Linked DNA regions of Homo sapiens: regions 1, 2 and 3 are each linked to region 4. The links are contacts of gene promoters, found by promoter capture Hi-C in human tissues and cell types (Jung and others, 2019). All regions are on one chromosome and are shown on one strand. The core of a region is centred on a gene start or on the middle of the fragment in contact, and the rest is flanking DNA. Distances in the headings are between cores, read along the strand shown. Region 1 overlaps CCDC136 (coiled-coil domain containing 136). Region 2 holds the start of GARIN1B (golgi associated RAB2 interactor 1B). Region 3 overlaps GARIN1B (golgi associated RAB2 interactor 1B). Region 4 holds the start of OPN1SW (opsin 1, short wave sensitive).

Region 1 (5,958 bases), core at 2,106-4,605, 43 kb after region 4:
TGCTGAGCCAGCAGATCCTGAGGAAGCTAAATCCACAGAAGATCAGGAGGAAAATGAAGAGGACAAAGAGGAAGAGGAGAAGGAAGAAGACAGTGAAGAGGAGGAGGATGACGCCGACTCTTCCCTTGAAAGTCCCGAAGAAAATAACCCCCTCAGACTTTCCGAGAGCAAAAAGGTAACCAGAGCCAAAGCCTAGATCAAGTGGGAAGTGGGGTCTTGGGCTCAGATAACTCCGAGTTAATGGGTGGCCCTGCCAAGGATGGATATCTCCAGGAGTGGAGGCCTCGCGCTCTAAGGCACAACCCTTCGGGGAGGTGGAGATGCAGAAGTGGGAGATGAGAGCAGTCTGTCTGCACGAAATCATGGGCTCAGCCCCGTTTGCTGTGGAACCACCTCACAATGACCACCTTTTCTGGGAACCAGCGTGGGGTCTCTGGAGTCCTTTCATTTACGTAGTAGCCTTTGTTACCTTCCTTATGTCGGGAGTGTTCCCTCATCCCTCTTTTGGCACTGCAGGAAGGACATTGACAGTGTGAAGTCTACTTCAGGCCATTTCTGTCGGTCTGGGCAAGTCACTCAGTCCAGTTTTCCTATGGTGCCCTGTTAGGTTTAACCTTTGTTGTTGCTGTTAGGGGTGTGTCAGGGGATAATCTCTTCTTTGTAGGCTCATGTTGCCCCCTGGATTCTGTATATCACAGGACATGAAGGTGGGGCCTGGAAGTGATCAAGAGTGATAGTGAAAATATTTCACATCTGTACAGTAGGAGCATAGACTAGTCCAAGGAGACCATCCCTAGCCTTAACCCTTCAGTTGCTAGATCATTGAGAGGTTGGGGTGGAGGTATCCTGGGATATATATGCCAGAATGCCAGAGGTAACTTACCAACAATATAGAAGTACTTCCATATTTTAATAACTGGTACGTCTCTGCAGGTATGTAGCAACTGAATTCTTGCCCTGGACTTAACTCAGGGCTCAGAGTCCCTACAGAGTTAGAGTATTTCCTGTGTAAGTCCTCAGCTTACATTACAGGTTCTTTCTGTTCTAAACAGAGGTAAAGAAAAAAAGCCTCTTGTGGTGGGATTATCCAGTCAACTCTGAGGATATCTGGAATTTCCAGCAATTTGGTCTTCAGCACTGGCTAAGGATCCAGTGTGCAGTGCTCTGCTTACCTTGTGCCAGGGGACCATTACCTAAGATGTGGAAAGTCGGAACCACTGCAGCCCCTCCCACTATCATGTTTCCTTGAGCTCATCATATTCCACCACGTGCTGGTTCAGAGCCTCACAGATGTCTTTACCTTCGGTGCCACATTTCTAAAGCTAGACCTGATTTTTCTACTTCAAATATATTCTATGTTTCTATATATGGAGAGATCCCTTTGCCCCGTGGGTCCTGCGTCTTTTGCAGGCAGCTCTAGGGCATGTGTATTACCACCTTGCAAAATCGGTTTCTCTCTGGAAGATTGTTGCAGTGAAAGAACTAGCCCTTCTCCATTGTCAGTTTGTTTCGGTGCATGTTGTCTTACAATGATATCATTAGATTCCTAGGGGATCTAAGGGACCAGAGCCCAAAATACTAAGAAACTTAATGGAAAGCAGGCTAGAACAAAGGGACAGGTGACCTGGTAGAAGACTGGCTCTTCCTAGAGTGACCTAGGAAAAGTCACAAGAAAGGTCTAGATGCAGATACCTCCTGCTTGACAGGATATGAGAGGTATGTGACGAGACAGAAAGAAAACTGGACTCACCGCCTGACTTGGACCTAGCTGCTGCTTAACCCATTCAATTTTGCAATTCCTGCAGACTGCCGGTGGAAAGAACCAAGGCCCAGGCAGCAGAAAAGACATGCAACTGCTCTAGCTTACCTGTTTTTTAACCTCTTGATTCCTTTCTCTTTTCCCTTTGTTTTCTCATCTTCATTATCTGTTGGATCCATGCGTTTATGTCTCACATCTCCTGGTCTCTCCTCGTGCTTCTTTCTCATTTTGGTGTGTTGCAGTCATCCCCTACCCCCAATCCCCCCATCTTCTCCTTGCCTCTTGTAGGCCTGGTGGTCATCTCGGCTTTGCTCTGGTGCTGGTGGGCTGAGACGTCGTCCTAATGCAGGTACTGGTATTGCTTCCTCTCCTTCTGAGGGATAGAGGGAGGGTGCAGGTTGCCCTGGCCTCTCCTCTTTCCCTTTTCTCCCAGCTGCTTGCTTCTTGCTTGTGCCATTTTATAATAGGTGATGCTCAGGTCTGAGTTTTAGTTCTGACTTTTCCTTGGGCTACTGCAAAGCCTCTGACATCTCTGAGCATGTCTTCGTAATGCATAGGAGGTTGGAATGCTTGCCAGAGACATGGTTTGTTTCAATCCTTGGCTGGGAAAAACTTGGATAAGCCCAGCTTGGTTGCTGCTGTCAAAGCTGCCTCACTACTTCTTTATCCCCGCTCATCCTCTGTGTGATGGCTAGCCTGACCACTTCTGATGAGCTGATATTTGCAAGGCTGGCCTGGACTCTCTTTGTCTTGGTTTAACTCCGGAGCCAAGTTCTCACTACTGTTGCTACCCAAGATGGCAAAATAAGGAATCCCTCTTCTGTTGGGAGAGAGAGGAGCTCTGAAGAGCTCTGATCCTCATGATCCTCCCAGGGGCATTGGTAGGAGGGCAACCTAAGCTGGTCCATCAAGCTTGGTGAAATGGAACCGAACCCCTACTGTATTCTGCTCTTTCTACTGAACAGTTCTCTGCTTCTGGACTTCCAGTCTCCGGAAAAGTCAGAACAGAATGCCGGGAAATTTTATTAGTTATCTATTTATCTATTTTGTGGGCCAGATTCCATGGTAATTGGCTTCCCCAGCTAGGTTTTCTGGAGAGAATGAGGTATTAGTGAAAAGTTTCTACTAGCCAGAGATGTGTGTTCTCAGGAAATCAAGACTGATATATTCTGGCCACTTTCCTGTCAGCTCCCACACATGTAATGTACACTGTCAACAGGATACCAAATTCAGGAGGCAGAATGTGGTCTTACGGCCTAAGGTAGAAGCCTGGGGTTCCACCTGCCTTCTGGAACCCATAAGGTATTCTCTCTAGTCCTGCATTGGCTCCTCTCTCATGCTTTCCCTGCCTCCCCCTCCACTCCCCTCTCTTCTCACATTCCTGTGAACGGAATGTAGCTTAATGCACAGGGTGGCAACTGGAGGATTTGTTGGTGGCACTTCTCTCCATTTCCTTTTCTGTCCTTCCTCCTGCTCCCTCCCCAGCTTTCCTGTTACTCATCTTCAAGCCTCCACTTTTCTTCTTGACTTTAGGTATTCCCTTTACTCCCTGGTCCACAACTGCTTTAGTGACGGGGCCCCTCTCTATGACTGTTTCTCCCCTGTCACCCCCCAGAAGTCTTAAGGCACTACGGGTGAAACCCAAAGAGTTCAGCCACAGCCTTCCACTACCTCAGACCCAGCCCGGCCCAATCAGAGGGAGAGGAAGAACTGCTGGTGAAGGGTTCTCCTGGTGGGGCCTGTTATCCCCAGAGCTCCAGGAGGCCCCAACATGCACCTGTGCAGCCAGGACCTGAGGGAGCACAGTGTGGTAGAAAGCGTGGCTGCCAGGCGGTCAGAAGAACTTGGTTGAGTCTGTCTCTACTGACAGGCGTTGTCCCAGGGAGCAAAATGCACACTCTGAGCTCTAGTTTCTTCAAATGTAAGCAAAGGATGATCGAACCTCTGCCCTCCTCACAGGTTTTTGTCAGGACCAGATGGGTTGAAGTAGATGAAAGTATTCTATAAATTATAAAATACCCCATCATTAATAAAAAGAGCACGCACTTACAAAATGCAGTCTTATGTGTCAGGCACTGTTCTAATCACTTACGTATATTAACTGATTTAATCCTTGCAACAACCCCATGAAGAAGCTACTCCTATTTTTTTTTATATATGATTAAACTAAGGCATAGAGAAGTTAAGTAAAACAGCCAGGAAGCTGCGAGTCAGATTATAAGGACTCAATATTAGCAACAAATAAGATTCCAGTCTTGCTTCCCTTTATTGTCTCTCCTCATTTTGAGCAGTTTCTCTTCATTGGTCCCAAGTAGGAAGACACCATACTTGTGTTTAGGCAACCTCAGATCACATTAGCTCTTTAGGTAACTAATATATTATTTATTTATTTCATGTATTTTTTATAAGCCCCTCTGCAGATTGTGTATGCTAAGCGTCCTCTCCCCATTCTGTACCTGCATTTGATTTTGAGGCTTCAAAGGCAGAATTTTCCATTCTTCCCTATTATAGTTCATTGTTCTTACCTTATAAGGTTTTGTGTGTATGTGTTTTTAATCTTGACCCTGTGGTTTTAAAATATTCACTTCCTCTGCCACCTTCACATCATCTACAGGGGTGGCAAGCCCTCCTTCCCTGTCTTCATCTACAGAGGACAGAGTGAGGACAGAGCCTCTAGAGTGTCGTCTCTTGGGGTTCTTTTATTCAGCTCATTGGTCACTTACCTGCCATTCAACAAACTGTACTGTCATCCTACCCTTATTTCTGCATATTATCTGCAAAGATCATAGAAAATTCTGTCAAACAACTCAACGTCCAAAAACATGATTCCGGTGATTTGTCACTTAGGTCACCTAGTTTAAAAGGAGAGTTTGACACGACTTCCCCTTTGGGACACCCACACCAGCCCTTTCCCCATCCCATGTAGAAGCTTGCCTTTGCCCAGTGTGAGGTGCACGGGTCACATTTAAGGATTTCAGCTCCTCCCTCCTTTAAGAACACCAGACTAACATTCTTAGCAATGCACATTAGGATAGAGGCATCTGAGCATATAAATATTTTTTTCTAGCTAGCTCCCTTCTTAGTTTTTGTTTTTGGTTTTAGAGACAGGGTCTCGCTCTGTCACCGAGGCTAGAGTGCAGCGGCATGATCATGGCTCACTGTAACTTTGAACTCCCGGTCTCAAGCGATCCTCCTCCCTCAGCCTCCGGATCTCTTGGTTTTCTTACATGAGTTACTCTGTATATCCACCTGTAACATTGCTTGGCTTTCCATTTCATACCTTCTGTTGTTCTTAGTAGCTATTTCTATAAGCTCAGGAGATTTTCTTTGCTCTTTAGCAGGCTTAAAGTCCTCTTTTTAGATCAATTATCATCTGAGAAAATGTGTTCTTAGCATTAATGGGCTATATTCCATTTTTACTTGAAACCATCCTTCTGTTACCTATGCCATAGCTTATGACTCAAAATCCAAATTCTACCTTTCAGTTAGTAGAGTAAAAAAGTAATAAAAATAAAACCTATTTCCCCAAGTATGTATTTTCTTGTCTAAGATTTTCATATTACCTAATGGATGCTTTTTGGATATCTTCGATGGTGCCACTTGTCCCATGAATCAGCAGGGTTCCCTAGTGGCCGGCAGTGTCTGGAAGCCTCAGCATACTCTAGCACATGCACCAGGAAGTCAGTCAACATACCTGGTGATTAGGAGTGTTCTAATGACCTAGGCCCAGTGACAGGTTTCCTTAAATTTCCTTGAACCAATGTCATTCTCTGTCAAAGTTTGTCTGCCTAAGAACCTCCTACTTACCTGCACTCCGTGGTGCACTTTCTTCATTTCCCCTCAGCCTTATTCCCCCTTCCCCATCCTCTTGACTCTGAGTTCACTTCACTGCAGTGAAACTAATGAGGTGCTGCTGCTTTTCTCAAAGCCCCAGATTTCCCCTCCTCTTTCTTGCCATGGCATCCAGTCCTTTCTCATTGCAACCACTTGGAAGTCTGGCCCCTGAGCCTGCTTCTTCACATGGGAGCTAGTATTCTCAGCCCATGGGGAGAAACGGAGGCCTGAATACAGGCGGTCACCTAAGGTGGTGCGTACAGTGTTGGGCCACATGTCTAGTGGTGCCAGGACTGAGAGATCACTTACCTCCACCGGTTACCCAGGAGGTAACAGAGACTGATCCACAATGTTCCTGAGGTGTC
Region 2 (6,425 bases), core at 3,382-5,881, 59 kb before region 4:
GGATTGCTTGAGGTTAGGAGTTCAAGACCAGCCTGACCAACATGGTGAAACCCCGTCTCTACTAAAAATACAAAAAGTAGCCAGGCATGTTGGCAGGTGCCTGCGATCCCAGCTACTCGGGAGGCTGAGGCAGGAGAATCACTTGAACCTGGGAGGCGGAGGTTGCAGTGAGCCAAGACCATACCATTGCACTCCAGCCTGGATGACAGAGCGAGACTCCGCCTCAAAAAACAAAAACAAAAACAAAAAAAACCTTGCTGTATTTTCCAATATTCTACAAAGCTTTGCACTGCTTATGCAATAATAAAGTGTTTTAAATAGTGACATAGATTTAAATGGGACAGACTTACCACAAAGATAATAAAACTTAAAGCTTCAGGGCCTCTAATTCATATGGGCCTTATGAGGCCCTAGGAGGACCTCTAGCAATTTTGTATCATACTTTTGTAGGGGTTTTAATTTTATTTGTTAAGTTCTAGCATATTTTCACTGTGGTAAAATACACACAACATAAAATGTACCATTTTAACCATTTTAGGTATGCAGTTCAGTGGCATGAAGTACATTCTCACTGTTTTGCAACCATCACCACCATCCATCTCCAGAACTTTTTCATCTTCCCTAACTGAAACTCTGCACCCATTAAACAATAACTCCCTATGACCCCCTCCATCCAGTCTTTTTATTTTTAAGAGTTTCCAAAATTGTATAAACTCTTGGCTTCACAAAACCTGGGTCCAGCCCCAACTGACAACCAGATGTCCTGGTAATTCCTGTGCAAGCTACGAAATGATACCTTGCACTGCCAAAGTGGCTTTAGCCTCAAACCAAAGGACAGTCAGCATGGTTGAGGCTGTCACCAAAGTTTTCATCACTAAAAGTGCAAACAGTAGTGATTGTGGCAGCATCAATATTACTGAATACACAAGGAGGAAAAAGCAATGTTTTCTCAAGTTATTGGAACCTACATCTATATAACTTTCCCCAGAAGCTACAAGTTTGTAATTTCTACAGTCCTAATTTCCTGTAAATTAACCCTATTTTCTTCACTGCTTAAAGTTATTGGTAAATAATTTTACATCTCCTTTTCCAGAAGGTAGTCACATGGTCTTACCTAGCTGCAAGGGAGGCCAGGAAATGTAATCTTTCTTACAGGAGACCTGTGCCCAACTAATGATCAAGTATTCTATTACTAAAAAATCAGAATGGGCCGGGCATGGTGGCTCAGGCCTGTAATCCAGCACTTTGGGAGGTCAAGGCGGTTGGATTACTTAGGGCCAGGAGTTCGAGACCAGCCTTTAGTAGAGATGGTGAAACCCCATCTCTACTAAAAATACAAAAATTAGCCAGGCATGGTGCTGCACGTTTGTAATCCCAGTTACTCGGGAGGCTGAGGCAGGAGAATTGCTTGAACTCGGGACATGGAGGTTGCAGTGAGCCAAGACTGTGCCACTGCACTCCAGCCTGGGCCACAGAGTGAGACCTTATTTCAAAAAGAAAAAAAAGAAAGAAACAGAATGGGTGTTGGGACAGACAACTAATAGACAACTAAGTATCTGTCACATGGTTTCTAAAAAGATTCAATATGCTTGTTTTTGAGGTTTGCAGGGGAAGTAGGAAGGGGTGCACATCATTTTTTTGTTTAATAGAGACAGGATCTCATTCTCTCGTGCAGGCTTGAGTGCAGTGGCAAGATCACAGCTCACTGTAGCCTTGAACTCCTGTCCTAGAGTGATCCTCCCAGGAGCCTAGGCTTCCCAAAGCACTAGAATTACAGATGTGAGCCACCTTAAAGCACCATTTACAAAACTGCTTAGCATCTTGTTTAGAGCTAAAAAATCCTTTGCTCACAATCAGCTTTCTAGACTGGGCACCCAAGCCTTCTTCCTCTGAGGGTTGAACACCATAGAAGTGGGCTTAACAGACTTGTATGGAAAAGAGAAGAAGTCATCTCCCCAACTGACTCTTGGATGTCTCAGTGGCCAAGTATACTCAAATTGTATATCTAAACCAATGAGCTTTATTGTTGTGGTTAAGCTTTAACTGTGAACAGCAACGTATCAATTTATTAATTACTACGCTTTTGTGCTGTGTGTTCCCTTTCTAGGTTATTTCCAGGGAAATGCAAACCAAAGGATGTGGTCTCTGATCTAATCCTTAGAGAATGTGACCATGAAGACACTTTTCCTACCTGGTAAACAAAAGATAATGAGAAAAGTGAGGTTGGAAGTTGGTTTACTGAGCCAGGAGCTATAACAGGTGCTGGAGCAGGGGTGTGATCTGAATGACCAGAGGGAAGGACTGATGGAATTGGATGGTGAGAGCCTCCAGGCCCTTTAGGCTTCTCCCTGACTTTATAATGAAATACAAAAGTCAGCCTCCATGCTTGTCCTTTGTGTGTAATGATTGTCAAACTCTGTCTATATGTGTTACATTTGACCTTGATGGTTAATTCATTATGTAATAAGTTCAGAATTTGGGACAGACACAGTGGCTCATGCCTGTAATCCCAGCACTTTGGGAGGTCGAGGTGGGCGGATCATCTGAGGTCAGGAGTTCGAGACCAGCCTGACCAACATGGAGAAACCCTGTCTCTACTAAAAATACAAAAAATTAGCCAGGCGTGATGGCACATGCCTGTAATCCCAGCTACTCGGGAGGCTGAGGCAGGAGAATCGCTTGAACTCGGGAGGCAGAGGTTGTGGTGAGCCGAGATCGCGCACATTGTACTCCAGCCTGAGCAACAAGAGCGAGACTCCATCTCAAAAAAAAAAAAAATTTAGAATTTGGTCCAAATTAGAAAACAGTTTCTCCCAGGAATGGCCTTGAATAGTGGTCAGCCTGCTTGGTTCTTTCTTCCTGACCTAGCAGCCCATGATTTGGGCTCTTTCCTCCTCTGGTTCAGGGGTGAGGGATGCTGTCACTCTCCAAGAGGGGGAACAGCTTGGGACCTAGCAGAGCTGCTCATCGGGGTTCTATTCCTCCCAGCCAGCGCCCTGACAAAGCCAGCCTCTGGATAAGAAACTAATTACTTCTCCTGCTTCTTCAGTTTGACCTCCTAAGGGAAGTAAGTCCTGCAGAAGTAACCAGCCTGCCGCGGCAGAATGCAGAGCAGGCACCAACTGCCCTGCAACTGCTTCCATAACCTGCAGATCCACCAGGGTGTCGGGGGCCCACATGCTGCAAAGCTTAGGAAGATGGGGTTTTCAATGGACATGCAGCTTTTAAAGTTGTGTGAGATAGGTTGCATTCAGAGTAAGGAAGGGTTGAAAGGCAGGAAGGGCATTTTCCTCTTAGCAGTGGAAGGATCTTCCTGACAGCCCTCCTTGCTTGCTTTCTGCCTGGCTCACTGCTTTCTCAGCAAGTTCCGGGAGGACTATGTCCTGGGGTTCCGAAAAGGGCTGGGGAATGTCCAGGCACGGATAAGGCACACAAGCTCTCTGGAGGAAAAGGGAGGCTCCTTTGCACTTCCCCTTCCTGCAGGTCTGTCCTGGTTTTTCATGATGTCATCCATTCATCATTGTGAGCTGACTGGTGGTCCCAGGGCTTGGCCAGCTGCCCAAGGCCAGGAGGGGAGACAGAGATCCCAGGACAAATGTGCAGCAGGCCCCTGAGCATGTGTAGAAATGTTGTCATCATTTCCACATAGAAAGACTTGGAGGAAATCAAAGAAGACAGTAAAAGTCACAAGATCCTATCCAACCTTCCCTTCCCTGAATGCCTGGGAAGAATTCAGGGGCCTCTTGCCTGTGGATGGAGAGCCGAACCCTGGAGCGGGCCTAGGTGTGGAGGAGGGACTGCTCTGCCGGGTGGTTCATTCTCCAGAATTCAACCTGTTTCTTGACTCCGTGGTGTTTGAAAGCAACTTCATCCAGGTATTCTTGGGTGGCGCAGAATAGCACTCTTTGATTCTTCGAAACCTGTTCCCAAGATATGACTGAGAGAGTCCATCCCTGAAACTGGGGCAGAGTGAGAATTGAGGCAAGGAGAAGCTAGTGGACCTGGAATGCAAGGCCACCCTCACTGACCTGGGCTTTGCTGAGCCCCAGACGGGGCTTCTCCTACAGACAGCTGTCACCCAGGGAGAAAGGTCAGGGGTCCTCTGCTCTGAGTGGAGAATTTGGTATCTAATCCCCCAGTTTACTTCAGCCCCCAGGCTGTCACCTGAAGTAGATGAACAAAGAGGCAGTAAAAAGAGACGCTTCTTGAGAACAATAATGCGGATTGGCGAAAGAACAGCACCTGGGGTCCCAGAGACAGCTGGGCTCAGATTCCAGTCCTCTGCCTTCTCCTTGGGAGGTGACTGTGCAAGTAACCTGTGCAGCCTGAATCTGGCCCCTTGATTGTAAAAGGGTTGAACTGACCTGAGGATGAAATGCAAATACAGCAAGAAAAGTACCTTGTCTAACAGGCACTCGGTGCACGTTCGTCTCCTTGCCTGGGCTCTCCTCTGGTTGGATGGAAGCGAGAATGAACAGCACTTTGGAGTTAGAGAGGACCTTCCTGTTCAGTGAAGGTGCAGGAGATAATAGGGCACCTCGGGGAAGGACCAAGAGGATACATTTTTCAAAGAAGGCCAGGAAACAGTCCAGGGAGGATTGGCAGAAATGACAGATGGCAGGGAACTCCTGGGTTGTAATTCCTGTGGGCAATTGTTAACAAATGGGTGGTTGAAATATTGTTTAAATACTAGTAGTTGTTTAATCAATATAGTGGCTATCAACAAGAATTGATTTTTGGCCCCAACTGCCAGGGAACATTTGACGATGTCTGGAGACATTTTTTATTGTCACGATTTGGCTGGTAGTGCTACTAGAACTAGTAGGTAGAGGTCAAGGATGCTACTAAGCATTCTTTAGTGTGCAGGGCAGTATCCTACCCTCAACAAAGAATATCCAACCCAAAACATTAATAGTGTCGAGGTTGAGAAACCCTGGGCTGAAACAGACTGCAGCTTTTGCCAAATGCTCAGGTTGTGCCTGGGGGCTGTGTTGCAGGTCAAAAGGGGCAGGAATTGGAGAGACGTCTACAAAGCTTCCAACACCATGGCCCTGGGGGTGACCTCCTCGGTACCCTGCCTGCCCCTCCCCAACATCCTACTCATGGCCAGTGTCAAATGGCACCAGGGGCAGAACCAGACATGGAACAGACCATCCATAGCCCCCAACATCTTCCTGAAGAGGTGAGCAATGCAGATGAGAATGGAGGACAAGAGGGGTGAGGGGTGGATGCAAAGTGGAGGTTGCTTGACTACTAAACTCAAGGAGAAGATAGAGATGTCATCAGCAGTGACATTGATTTTTTTAGACAACAGAGTATCCTAAGACAGGTGTTGCACTGGAAGGACAGAGGCCAAGTGGGACAAAGGGAGATGTCATGTGGACAGGAGTCAGGGGCTAGTCTACCTGCCCACTTTCTTTCTCGCTGCACAGACGCCACTGAATTCATAGGAAATCTCTCAGCATTGGGCCCAAGGGCAAGGAGGCAGTGAGTCTGGCAGATGGAGCACTGGTTGGGGAAAGGAGATTATTTCTAGTTCTTGGTGTACAACTAACTGGACTCAATTTTTAAAATCACAAGTTATTTGCTGCTCCTCAGTTTTCTTTGTCTTTTTCTTTTTCTTTCTTTCTTTTTTTTTTTTTTTGAGACTGAGTCTCAAAAAAGACTATCGCCCAGGCTGGAGTACAATGGTGGGATCTTGGCTCACTGCAACCTCTGCCTCACAGGTTTAAGTGATTCTCCTGCCTCAGCCTCCCGAGTAGCTGGGATTATAGGTGCCTGCCACCACACCTGGATAATTTTTGTATTTTTAATAGAGACAGGGTTTCACCATGTTGGCCAGGCTGGTCTTGAACTCCTGACCTCAGGTGACCCACCCTCCTCAGCCTCCCAAAGTGCTGGGATTACGGGCGTGAGCCACTGTGCCCGGCCAGGTTTTTTTTGTTTTTTTTTTTTAATCAGTAAAATAAATGGGACTAAGTCTCACTTAGAGCTGTAGCATATAGTGACATCATGCTTGTCTGGGACGAAGTAGCCTTTTTAAATTTTGGGGCCTCTTTAAATAATCTGTAGGATATCTCAAGAATCTCTAGAAATTCCCAAAAGTCCAAGAAAACCCTTCATTTCTCCATGCTACCTCAGTGACACACCTCTCCATGATGTTCTTGGTGTACCTCTAGCAAGTACCACCCAGTCCCAGCTGACTAATATTAGATCCAAAGCCAGATCCTTGAACTTTAACTCCCTTGGGAAGACTAACTGTGGCATTAAACTCAATAAATGCACAAGCCAGACAGTGGGGCAAGCTCCTTTGGTGCTTTCAAGAAAGAAATTTTGGCTGGGCGCGGTGGCTCGTGCCTGTAATCCCAGCACTTTGGGAGGCAGAGGCAGGTGGATCGCCTAAGGTCAGGAGTTCGAGACCAGCC
Region 3 (5,983 bases), core at 2,164-4,663, 41 kb before region 4:
TTAAATTAGCATAAGTATCTGTGTGCCCACAAAAGAGCTTTTTAGGTAATTTATATCCTATCAAACACTTTTCTCTCCTACACTCACAGGAAATTCTATTTGAGCCACCCTTCCGCACTGGGGAGAATCTATGCAAGCCTCGTCAACACCACTTTGCAGCATTCAGCTGCTGAGGGATTATCGGGATGGAGAGTAGGAGAAAACTGCAACCAAGGAAGAATAGAGTCATCTCACGGTGACAGCAGAGCCTTTCCAGCTGTACATAACCACGTCCTCGCCACTGCACCTCGGCATATGCCACCTCCATGCCACTGCCAGAGCTGGCCTAGCAAGATGTGCTCTCAGAATGGCCGGGCCCAAGAGATGAAGGAAAGGAGTGAAAGGGAAGTAGGACCAGAGAAGTGGAAGGAAGCAAAATGGAGGTGATGAGAAAGGTGGTGGGAGAAAGTCAGCAGATGAGAGACACAAAGAGAAGTGGTAATAGGAAACGGAAGAGACTTGGTAGACGAGATAAGGAGGACAAGAGAAGGGACACACCCCTGAGAGATGCTCACCAAGCTTCTATTTATCTAATTTAAAACTTGAAAGTAAAGCCATAAACAAAAAAAAGAAATGTTTTCTTCCCTGCTCAGACCATTCTGGACAAATGTGAACTGCCAGACACCTTCCATTTCCCTTTCTATCTGTTTTTCTTGCTAGTTCCTGTCTTCTGATTAAAGCTTCATTCCTTCTTTGTTGGCCTGTTCCCTAACTTGGACTTGCTAGCCCTGTTGTTCCTAATAGAGGTTTGGGTTTGAGCTGCAGAAAGGTTCTTATAGGAGGTAGTAAGACAAGGTGTGTAAGGTAGGGCGAATTTCTCTTTTGTGTTCAAATTCCCTAAGTTTGCTATTATCTCCGTGCCGCAAACACTGGCTCAACTTCTTTTTTGTATAACACTCCCTTGAAATGTCGACATACCTTGTTAGTGCTTTTTAAATTAGAGATTCCAGAGATAGGAGATATAGGCTCAACATACAGGTTAATCAGAGGTTTACCAATTATAGATGAAGGGAGTCATGAAGGAGTGTTTGTCAGATGGTCTATGGACTGGCCTCTTTGTTTAAAATGTGCAATAGTGTCAGGAGCAGTAGCTCGTGCCTGTAATCCCAACGCTTTGGGAGGCTGAGGCAGGTGAACCACTTGAGCCCAGAAGTTTGAGACCAGCCTGCGAAACATGGCGAAAACCCATCTCTGCCAAAAATACAAAAAAATTAGCCAGGAGTGGTGGTGTGTGCCTGTAGTCCCAGCTACCAGGCAGGCTGAGATGGGAGGATTGCTTGAGCCCAGGAGGTCGAGGCTGCAGTGAGCAATGAGTGTGCCACTGCACTTCAGCCTGGGTGACAGAGTGAGATCCTGTCTCAAAAAAAGAAAAATTTCACATTTAATGAGAAACAGACTATGAGTATTTCAGGAAAGCTGTCCATCCCCCAGCTGGGGAGGGTATTTTGATTTGACTTAAGATATCCTAGCAGCATCTTTTTCCTCACTTAACTAGTTTTCAGCCTGAAATTGTTAGAAGGCTAAAAAATAAGCTCCTGGATCACCATTACTCAAAGGCTGAGTTATGTCCTAATTCTTAGTGATTTCAGCATCCACATGGATGATCCTTCCCATACTTTGATCTCTGTTCCCTGAACTCCTGCCTTCCAGCAATGCTTTTTCCACCCTCCTCGACCACTGTCTCCCTTGATTTTACCCTAGTGTTTGTCATTAATAACTGCACCTAACCCCATTATTTCCACTCCCTAGCTATAACACCTCCTATTTTTTCCTGAGTCCAATAATCCATTGACCCACCAATCCTACAATCTATTGCTTCTACCAGGTTTTCACTGTTCCTCGCTCTCTTCATGTTCTCATTTCCTTCCCCTGTAACCTAGATTATCTGTGATCAGTCATTATTATTATCACTTCCTGGCATGCATTCTCAACATCTTTGTGACTCTCTCACTTTCTTCCCTTGGCTAAATTCAGTTCTCTACCAGCTCCATGCCTGTGTGATGCTGCTGAACTTGCCACTGAACCTCTCTGGAGAAGATCACATGACATACTAACCAGTCTCCCTGCAAAGTCATCATCATGGCCTCAAGGGGGTCCTTGATGTTGCCTGGAAATCATCATGTGTTCTCCTAAATCTGTTCACTCTGCTGAATGGCTATTTCACACCTCTCTCCTCTAACTGCCAATGCCTCCTCCTGATGACCCTGCTTCCTATTTCACTGAGAACATAGTCAGAATTGAAAGAGAATTTCAGGCTCTCACCACCATATCTACCAATTACCTAGATCCAGACCCATTGACTCTAGCTTCTCTCTTTGTTACTATGGAGGAACTGTCTCTCCAAGCAGAGTCCAGCTCTTCCCCTTTTGTAGTAGATCCCATTCCATCTCACCCAAATATGTCACACCAGCAACTTTTCCTTTTTCCTACGTCATCAGTTTGATCTCTACTTCCAGATCCTTCCCATCAGCAACGAACATACTGGCATGCCTCCTAAACATACTTATTTCTTACAATAAAAACAGAACAAAATAAAACAAAACCTCTCTTGGCCCCTCTGCCTCCTTGCTCCAGTTTTCTCCACCCCTTTACAGAAAACTCCATGAAAGGGAACCAACTTTTAAAAATCTCCATTGTCTCTTGAAGTCCTTCAACCAGGTTTTTGCATTCACTACCTTGACAAACCTGTCAAAGATTCCCACACTGCTAAAGCCCATGGCCAACTGGGCCCCACCTCACTGTCAGCAGCATGCTTTCTCCCTGAACCTTTTCTTCACTTGGCTTCCAGGACACTCTCCTGGCTTTCCTTCTCCCTCATTGACCTTTTTCTCAGTTCCTTTGCTGATTCATTCTCATCAACACCCCCCAATCATATCTGAACATCAGAAATTCCCAGGATTCAGTCCTTAAGTCTCTTGTAATCAAAACACACAGATTTCATGCCACAAATATACTCGTAAATTTATATATTTAGTCCAGACCACCATGTACTCGAGATACATATCCAACTGCCTAGTCGATATCTCTACTTGAATGTCTAATATGTATCTCAACATGCCCAAAACAAATCTCTCAATATTATCCCTCAAATTAGCTGGGTGTGGTGGTGCATGCCTGTAATCCCAGCTACTCGGGAGGCTGAGCCAGGAGAATCACTAGAACCCAGGAGGCAGAGGTTGCAGTGAGCTGAGATCACACCACTGTACTACAGCCTGGGCGACAGAGCGAGACTCTGTCTCAGAAAAAAAAAAAAATTATCCCTCAAAACTTTGTTCTCTCTAAAGTCTTCTCCATCCTAATAAGCAGAAGCCTCATTTTTCTACTTGCTCAAAACCCTGGAGTCATCCTTAACTCCTCTCTTTCTCTCCACCCTATTTCCAACCCATTAGGAAATCCTTTCAAACTACTTTCAAAATATATTCAGAATTTGATATTCTCACTACTTCCACTGCTACCAACCTGGACCAAACCATCATCATCACTCACCTGGATTGTTGCAAACACCTCCTAAATGCACTCCGTTCCTAACCTTACTCCCTTTCAGTCTAATGTGATCCTTTAAAAATCTTAGATCATGTTTCTTCTCTGCTCAAAACCTTCCAATGGTTTCCCTTCTGTATTAGTTAAGGCAATGCTAGCTCTGAAAGAGATAAATCCTAATATATCAATGGCATAAAATAGCTAATAGAAGTTCTACTTCTCATTCACAAAGAGTCCAAAAATGGTGTTCCTGGTTCAAAAACTGAGTGGCAGTTTCACAGGAACCTGGGCTTCTTCCATCTTGTGGCTCTGCCATCTGCAATACACAGCTTCTAGCCACAGAAAGAGAATGAGCTTGGAGAATTACACATGGCAGGTCTGTATGGCCAGTACTGGAAGTAGTGTACAACATCTCCACCCTCCTTCCTTCAGTCAGAGCTCAGTCATATGACCATACTGGAAGGGAGGCTGGGAAATGTAGTCTAGCTGGGTTCACAGAAAGAAGAAGAAACAATTTAGCAAATAGTCAGTCTTCATATCCTCTCACTCATCATAGCGAAAGCTAAAGTCCTTGCAATAGCCTAAAGGCCCTACATGGTGTCCCTCTCTCCCTCCCTCATTCCTGTTGCTCCCTCTCTGACCTCATGTCCTCTACTCTCCTTGCTACTGTACTGCAGTCCCACTGGCTTCCAGTTGCTCCTCAAACACTTCAAACATACTCCCAACTCAGGGCCTTGCCTTGGTGTTCCCTTTTCCTGGAATGTTCACCACCTTCAGATGTTCACTCACGTGTCACCCTCTCATGAGCTTCCCTGGCCACCTTTTCTGAGATGGCAACGCCACTCCTGATAGTCCCAACACTCACTGTTCTCCTTTCCTGCCTTATTTTTCTCCTTATGTAAGCAGACAGAGAGGGTCTGTATTAGTCCATTCTTGTATTGCTATAAAGAAATACCTGAGACTGGGTAATTTACAAAGAAAAGAGATTTAATTGGCTCAGAGTTCTGCAGCTGTACAGGAAGCACAGTGGCTTCTGCTTCTTGGGAGGCCTCAGGGAAATTATGGCGGAAGGCAATGGGGAAGCAGATACGTCTTGCATGGCTGGAGCAGGAGGAAGGGGCGGGGGAGGTGCCACAGACTTTAAATGAACAGATCTCATTAGAAATCACTCACTATACAGTACCAAGCGGGGATGGTGCTAAACCATTCATGAGAACTCCGCCCCATGATCCATTCACCTCCCACCAGGCCCCTCCTCCAATACTAGGGTTTACAACACAGATCCAAACCATATCAGGGTCTCCAGGGATAAAAGGAATTCAATCAACTCGAGCAATCAGCCTGTTTTACAGCCTTCTGCCCTGCAGCCTGTTCTTCCCCAAACCCTGCATGGAATGTGGTCACCTTGTTGGTTTGAACCAGCTCCTTGCAGACCCTGGCAATTTATAGATGAACTGAGTCAACTTTTCCCTTGACCATGCCAAAGTCTCCACCCTAGGAGGAGCTATAGCTTCGTTGCCATAACATGCCACCTATGTTCTGGCATAATGACTCACTCGTTTGTGCCACTGGGACCCCTCCTCTACATGTGATTTTGCACTCTCTCCATCACCCTGTAAAACCCTCCTGTCACTTTCCCCTGGGGAGACACTGCTTTAGAGAACATTCCCAGTATCCTTCTTACATATGCCAAGTAATAAAACTGCTATTGATCACAAACTGCGTTTTGCATTGTTTGTTACTCACTAAGCGAACAAACCCTGGTTTTTCAGGTAACAGCACCTGTCACCACCTCTCATTCTATGTATGTTGCTTTTTTGTCTTGTTTATGGGCTGTCTCACCTACCTCTACACACCAGAGTATAAGCACCGTGACAGACTTAATTTTGTTCACTGTTGTATCCCCAGTTCCTAGAACAGTGTCTGCACACAGGAAACATTGAAAGTTCAGTAGCACCCATGAGCAGAGATGGGAAGCTTGGAGATGAATGTCAGCCTTTTATGGTGACACCATCATGCCGGCCCCAAGCAGTCCTTCAGTGCTGCTCTCACTCGATGGCCTCGGGTGCAGCTATTGGCGGCATTTCTAATATGTGTTGTCCCTCAGGTCCTTTTCTTCCTTCCTCCACCTACTTTCTAACTCTGGGGCTCCCATGAGGCCTAATCTGCTTTCGTCTCCTCAAAAAGTTTATCTGTTCTCATGGCTCCATCAGCCATCTGCTAGCCAACAACCCCTCCCAAATATCTCCTCCAGGCTCTTGGCTCTTTCTCTTTGGCTATTCCGCCATCACATAGACTTCCTATGTCTTGAACTCAATTGACTTCCCTCATTCCATGCACCTAGCTCATTCTCCTAGTCTCCCATGATTAAACCTTTTAACTTTTGAGTGCTCCTTCTTCATTTCTTTCATTCGAGTGGTCACTAAGCTCAGGACTTATTTCCACTTTTAAAATCTCTCTTGTG
Region 4 (5,832 bases), core at 2,642-5,141:
TAAGACAAATATAAAGGTTTAGCCAAATGCAACGGGGAGGAAGCACCTGGAATAATTTGTGCTTGCTCAGGGGCTTGTGGACATGGCTGTTCCTGCCAAAGCTGTAGCAGTTATCCAAAAGTTCTTTCAAACTCATATTTGGGGCCACTGAGTTTTTTTTGTTTTTTTTTTTGTTTTGTTTTGTTTTTTCTTTATGTCTCTCCCATTTCTAAAGTGTTTTCTTAAGTTTGTTCTAATTCAGCATATATCATCTCAGAATGGATCCCCAGCAGGAAAAAAAAAAAAAGTTACTAAAAAGGAAAGTATCCATACACTGAAAACTTAAAGCATATTCCTTTTTGGTTGCCTTGTATGTAGAAATCAGTTCTCCAAGTGCTGTGAATGGTGCCACTTAGGAGTAGAAACTGATGATTGTTGAAATGGCCTTTGGGTGGTCTGAAATAGACCAGTGGAAACAGTAGCTTTGTAGGCAAGAAGGCAATAGTAAGAAAATGAAAAATTGACTCCCCAAACTGCCATCACTCCTTTTACCATCTTTTTTGTGTTTTTAGTAGTTTGGTTTCTGACGGAGACAATAGAAACTTACTTAAAAGTAAAATTTAATTCTAGCTGTTGCAAACAGGCCAATATTGGGTCCTCAGTTGGGGCCAACTTGGGTAGACGAGACAGTAGAAACTTCTGTTTTCTGGGAGCTGCATGTGTCGGATTCATCTGTCATGGCCTTCCCACACACCATCTTCATGATGCAAGCTTGGAACTGGAGAGAAAGGTACAATTGGAGATAACCTTGGCAGATGAGGAAGTATGGGAAAAAAGACCTTATTCTCTGTATCACCAAAGCCTTGCACAATGCTTTGTACCCAGAATGCCCTTAGGTGGTTTTGAATCTATCTTCCCCATCCTGAAAACTATCTAGATTCCAGTCTAGAACTACTCCTGGGTCTACGGTAATCCTAAACTGGTCAAGTCTGAGACCTCACTGTTGGTAAATTCACAAACCATCCTGCTTCATAAAAGCACTGTCAGCAGAGGCCCCTCCATTACTAGCAGGTGCTCCCAGCTGGAAAGGACTGCCAATTCTCTTCTATCCAGGGAGGTTTCAAATTAGTTTTGAGTCTACCTCTGGGATTGAGGAAACAATACCATCTGAAAGTAGGGTTTTTGCCACTTAGGGTTTGGTGTTTATTAGCTCGGATTTCAGATGGGATAGGAAATCCCCCAGTACCTTCAGATGATAAGATATTTTAGAGATTTTTGCATGTGGTATGATTTCTGTGCTTCACACATGCTCGTGCAGGCTAAAAGTTGGAAGGGAAATGATTAAGAAATTATTAAATGCAAGGACTGAAAATTGAGAGGAATCTGAGTTTTTATTTTTATTTTTTTAATTTTATTTAAGTTCCAGGATACATGTGCAGGATGTGCAGGTTTGTTACATAGGTAAACGTGTGCCATGGTGGTTTGCTGCACGAGTTTTTCAATAAAATGCTTTCATTCATCCTGTTCTTTGGAGCAACTTCATTTTCCTGACTCAAGTTCTTTCCTCCGGGGTTCTATTTTCTCGTCTTGATAACCGTGCCTTCCTCCCTGTGCTTACCAAAGGCTTCCCAACCTACTCGGGGGTTTTGTGGCTTCCCTCGTCTACTAGAAACCTGGGTAGAGTCCAGGGTGCTCTGAGTTAAAAGTCAATGGTGAGAAAAGAACCAGGGTCTTCTGGACCATAGGAATGTGAATAAAGAGCTTTACCTGCTTATTCATGAAGCAGTAGATGATGGGATTGTAGATGCAAGCACTCTTGGAGAAGAATGAAGGAATGGTGACAAGCCGTAAGTCCAGCCCATGGTTACGGTTGTTGACCATGTACATGGCGAAGGCCGCGTAGGGCACGTAGCAGACACAGAAGGATCCTACCATCACAACCACCATGCGGCTCACCTCCCGTTCAGCCTTCTGGGTCGTAGCTGACTCCTGCTGCTGAGCTGCAACCTGGGGTGGAGCACGGAAAGCATCACATCTCTCTTTTTCCTGGCCCTCTGGATGCTTTTTTTTTTTTTTTTTAATTTTTAATTTTTAATTTTCTTTTTGAGACCGAGTCTCGCTCTGTTGCCCAGGCTGGAGTTGCAGTGGTGCAGTCTCGGCTCACTGAACCTCCACCTCCCGGGTTCAAGTGATTCTTTTGTCTCAGCCTCCTGAGTAGCTGGGGTTACAAGCACACACCACCATGCCCAGCTAATTTTCGCATTTTAGCATTTTGCCATGTAGGCCAGGCTGGTCTGGAACTATTGACCTCAGGTGATCCGTCTGCTTCGGCCTCCCAAAGTGCTGGGATTATAGGCGTGAGCCACTGCGCCCGGTCTCTGGATGCTTTTCTGTGGGATGGGGGAGGGGGCATCCACTCTGATTGCCTCTTTTCTGTCCCATCTCCTGGCCTAGTTCCTTTGGATCTCCATCATTCTCCCTCCTCCTACTTCCTTTGCTGCTTTTAGATACCCTCTCTGGCTATGGACATTTCCAGGCATCTTATGTTTCAGAGCACTCTTCCTTCTCATGTGGAGCCCCGAACCCCTTCTTCCCTGACTATCAAATGCCACTCACAGCTTTCAGGGCCCTCAGCAGCTGAGTGTAGGAGAAGCAGATGAGGGAGAGAGGCACAATGAAGCAGAAGATGAAGAGGAACCACGTATAGGACTCGCTGCGGTATTTGGTGCCCACGGTGTACCAGTCAGGGCCACAGGAACACTGCAGGCCCTCAGGGATGAACCTGCAAAGGACCAAACACTTGCTCACTGGACTCTCCACAAGAGTGCAGTGGGAGCTGAGATGCCTGGATTGTGTTCTCCACTTAGAACCCACGGAATGCCCTAAGGCTTCAAGCAGGGGGGTTTTCTGTCCTGACTGGGAGAAGCTACAGCAATTCCAACTGCAGAGTAAACGTTAGCACTTGTCTCCCACTGCCCTTTCGCCTCATATTGCAACTCTTTAAAAGTAGAGGTCAAAGACTAAATAGTTATACCCAAGCTCTCTTTCCACCCACATCAACCTGAGCTCCTAGTTAACTCAGCACCACTGCCCTGCACTCTCACCGGCTCCAGCCAAAGAAGGGTGGGATGGAGACGCCAATACCAATGGTCCAGGTAGCCAGGACCACCGTCAGTGCATGCTTGGAGCTGAAGCGGAAGTTGCCGAAGGGCTTACAGATGACAATGTAGCGCTCAAAGGCCAGGAAGGCCAGTGACCATCCTGTAACCAGACCTGTGGTGAAATGTGAGGATAATGGGCTAGACAGAGCCCCACCCAGCCTGGCTGGCAGAGTGGCAAACAGATCGGGTGGAGCAAGCACAGAGAGACAGGGCTGGACTGACATTTGGAGTGAAGACTCAAACATCCTATTTTAGCCAAACTTCTAGTCTGGGTTGCTTTGTACCCCAGTATTTTAAAAAGCACCAGACTCATTTCCCCCAGACTCCTCTTTAGGAACCCCCTCCAGTGGAGTAGCAACCTTTGCCTTCCCCTAACCCCTTTTTCCCCTGCAGTACCTGCTACAGTGCCCAGGAAGCCCTCCAAAGCACAAACATGGCGACCGAAGACGAAGTATCCGTTACAGCTGGCGACGAAGACAGGGAAGACAGAGAAGATGCAGAGGAGGAAGCCTCCGAAGGACACGTTGACCAGAATGTAGTTGAGGGGCTGCCGCAACTTTTTGTAGCGCAGTGTGGCCACCAGCACCATGGCATTGAGTGGGAACCCTATAAGGAAGACAGTGCCCATGAAAGCTGCCTGGAGGTAGAAGGCCCAGACAGGGGCAATGTGGTACTGAGGCCCATCCCACGGCCCCACTGAAGAGATATTTTTGAACAGATAAAACTCTTCCTCCGACATTTTTCTCATGGATGCCCCACACCCCCCTCTGAGTCCTCTTATAGGTGATCCTCCCACCCCACAAAACCCCTCCTCTAAAAACACTTGGGCTCTGTGAATGATCAATACTAATCCTAAACCTCCCAAGGACAAAGTTTGGGATTAGAAATCCCTAAACCACTACCTAAACCTTTTGTGGCCCCAAAGCCGATTGTGTTCTTCAGAGGATAAGAGATTGGGCTCAAATAATCTGGATATGCAATGCTGGGTGCTGGGATGAACAGAAGTGGACTCCCTGAGGTCTGGGAGGTGCTGACCCATATTCACTGAAGATGCTTCCACTTTTTTGTTCTTTTAATGGGGCTATAGAAAGGGCACGCCTCTTATTTTGGCTTCTGGCACAACTGTATCAGTTAAGTTTTCCTCAACTCATCTGCCCCTTTGTGGAAGGTGCCCATCTTAAGTCTGCTGAGAGGCTAGGAACCAGCCCTGGGCTGCAGGAAAGGGCTGGGAGTGGGGAGTGCCCTGGAAGCACATCAGTAAACAGCCTTGATGGAACAGGACTTAGGCAACTTGACAATGCCTAGAGGTCTAGGGCATCCCTGAGCCAGGCTGCCTCCATTTCTTTGTGTTGAATCTACTCAAAGAGTGTGCCTTTCCTACTCAGACCTCCAGCCAGGGAGGTGGGTCTGTTCACTGTCCTTACGCCATGTTCATGCCTACCCCTACCCTTAGCTCAACAAGTCGCCACAGTCTTCCTCCTGTCTGTTCATTGAAGTCTTATCTAGCCCTCACAGCCTACCTCACAAACACCTCTTCTGTGCAGCCCACCCCAGTGACACCAACTCTGCTTTAAGTTCCACCTGCACTTGTACTCAGTACTACACTTTAGGCTTTATGAATGAATCTTTTCCACCTCAGCAGATCATAAATATATAGATGAGTTGGCCGGGCGTGGTGGCTCAAGCCTGTAATCCCAGCACTTTGGGAGGCTGAGATGGGTGGATCACAAGGTCAGGAGATCGAGACCATCCTGGCTAACGGTGAAACCCCGTCTCTACTAAAAATACAAAAAATTAGCTGGGTGTGGTGGTGGGCGCCTGTAGTCCCAGCTACTTGGGAGGCTGAGGCAGGAGAATGGCGTGAACCCGGGAGGCGGAGCCTGCAGTGAGCCGAGATCACGCCACTGCACTCCAGCCTGTGGGACAGAGCGAGACTATATATATAGATGAGTTAAAAGTGACACACTTTAGGTATAAGTAAGTTTAAAAGTGAAAGGATGGTCCAGTAATGGCAGAATAGTTTATTAGATGAATGCCCCCTTAGGCAAAAAAATTGTAAACTGGACACAATATGAAAAACAACTTTTTGAAAACACCTAAAGTATCCAAAGCAGGCAGAAACTGAAAGGAACTCAACTCTTCAATGAAAAGAACCATCTACATTGTTGTTTTTTTTTTTCCCTGAGTGTACTCCCGAGTATAAATGGCACAGGATAGCTAGAACTTGAGCAGAAAGCCCCAGCCTTTTTTGGCTTGAAGAGTCAGAGGACAGAGGACAGGAGACAGAGGACAGTTTGGGACTCCAGAACAGCTGAAGGTGGATTTCCTGGAATGAAAGAAGCCACAGAAGGCAAAGTCTTTAAATCTGCATATAAACTCCCCTCAAATCATAGGCTGACTGCTGAACTGTGGATGGAGGAATTTCCAAGAGCCCAGTAAAAGACAACCACTGGAGGTCTGAAAGAGCTAAGCAGATTTTGACTGTTACCCACTGTAGCAGAGAAAGAGTTTGAATTTGAATCCCAAGTCAGAGGGTCTGGGTAAACACTTAGGGCTTTCTACTTGAAACTCCCAAAAGGCCACACCATAGAGCTAAAATCTATATCCCAGGACTAAATATTTGTTCTGAGAGTAAGGTCAAAGCCAAAGCTGACTCATACTAGCAAAAGATAAAACCAAGCCTCAGCGGGTT

What was found. The method cuts DNA at HindIII sites, captures the fragments that hold promoters and counts their contacts. A contact is called where the count stands out against the background at its distance.
Region 1: a contact is called between a fragment that was not itself captured here and the fragment with the promoter of OPN1SW in region 4, in 3 of the 25 tissues and cell types used here (bladder, mesenchymal stem cells and thymus).
Region 2: a fragment that was not itself captured here is called in contact with the fragment with the promoter of OPN1SW in region 4 in 2 of the 25 tissues and cell types used here (IMR-90 fibroblasts and mesenchymal stem cells).
Region 3: a contact is called between a fragment that was not itself captured here and the fragment with the promoter of OPN1SW in region 4, in 1 of the 25 tissues and cell types used here (mesendoderm cells).

Annotation. Positions count from the first base shown.
Region 1 is chr7:128,815,757-128,821,714 of GRCh38, forward strand. CCDC136 (coiled-coil domain containing 136) reads left to right here. Exons shown (of 18, transcript NM_022742.5): 16 at 1-175; 17 at 2,002-2,108. The coding sequence ends at 2,103. Among named protein-coding and RNA genes, the nearest start is that of FLNC, 12 kb to the right of the region's middle. The HindIII fragment of the contact is 4,770 bases long and covers 971-5,740 here.
Region 2 is chr7:128,711,816-128,718,240 of GRCh38, forward strand. It overlaps GARIN1B (golgi associated RAB2 interactor 1B), which reads left to right and starts at 3,576. Exons shown (of 7, transcript NM_001282788.3): 1 at 3,576-3,875; 2 at 4,998-5,182. The coding sequence starts at 3,627. The HindIII fragment of the contact is 6,852 bases long and covers 1,206-6,425 here.
Region 3 is chr7:128,731,011-128,736,993 of GRCh38, forward strand. It overlaps GARIN1B (golgi associated RAB2 interactor 1B), which reads left to right. Exons shown (of 7, transcript NM_001282788.3): 7 at 90-733. The coding sequence ends at 103. Among named protein-coding and RNA genes, the nearest start is that of CALU, 5.4 kb to the right of the region's middle. The HindIII fragment of the contact is 5,550 bases long and covers 639-5,983 here.
Region 4 is chr7:128,771,903-128,777,734 of GRCh38, forward strand. OPN1SW (opsin 1, short wave sensitive) reads right to left here and starts at 3,892. Exons shown (of 5, transcript NM_001385125.1): 1 at 3,537-3,892; 2 at 3,084-3,252; 3 at 2,596-2,761; 4 at 1,747-1,986; 5 at 583-757. The coding sequence starts at 3,879. The coding sequence ends at 638. It overlaps CALU (calumenin), which reads left to right. Exons shown (of 7, transcript NM_001219.5): 7 at 1-1,498. RefSeq lists cis regulatory regions at 3,878-4,445, 3,886-4,880, 3,889-5,832, 3,889-5,832, 3,889-4,988 and 1 more. The HindIII fragment of the contact is 13,114 bases long and covers 1-5,832 here.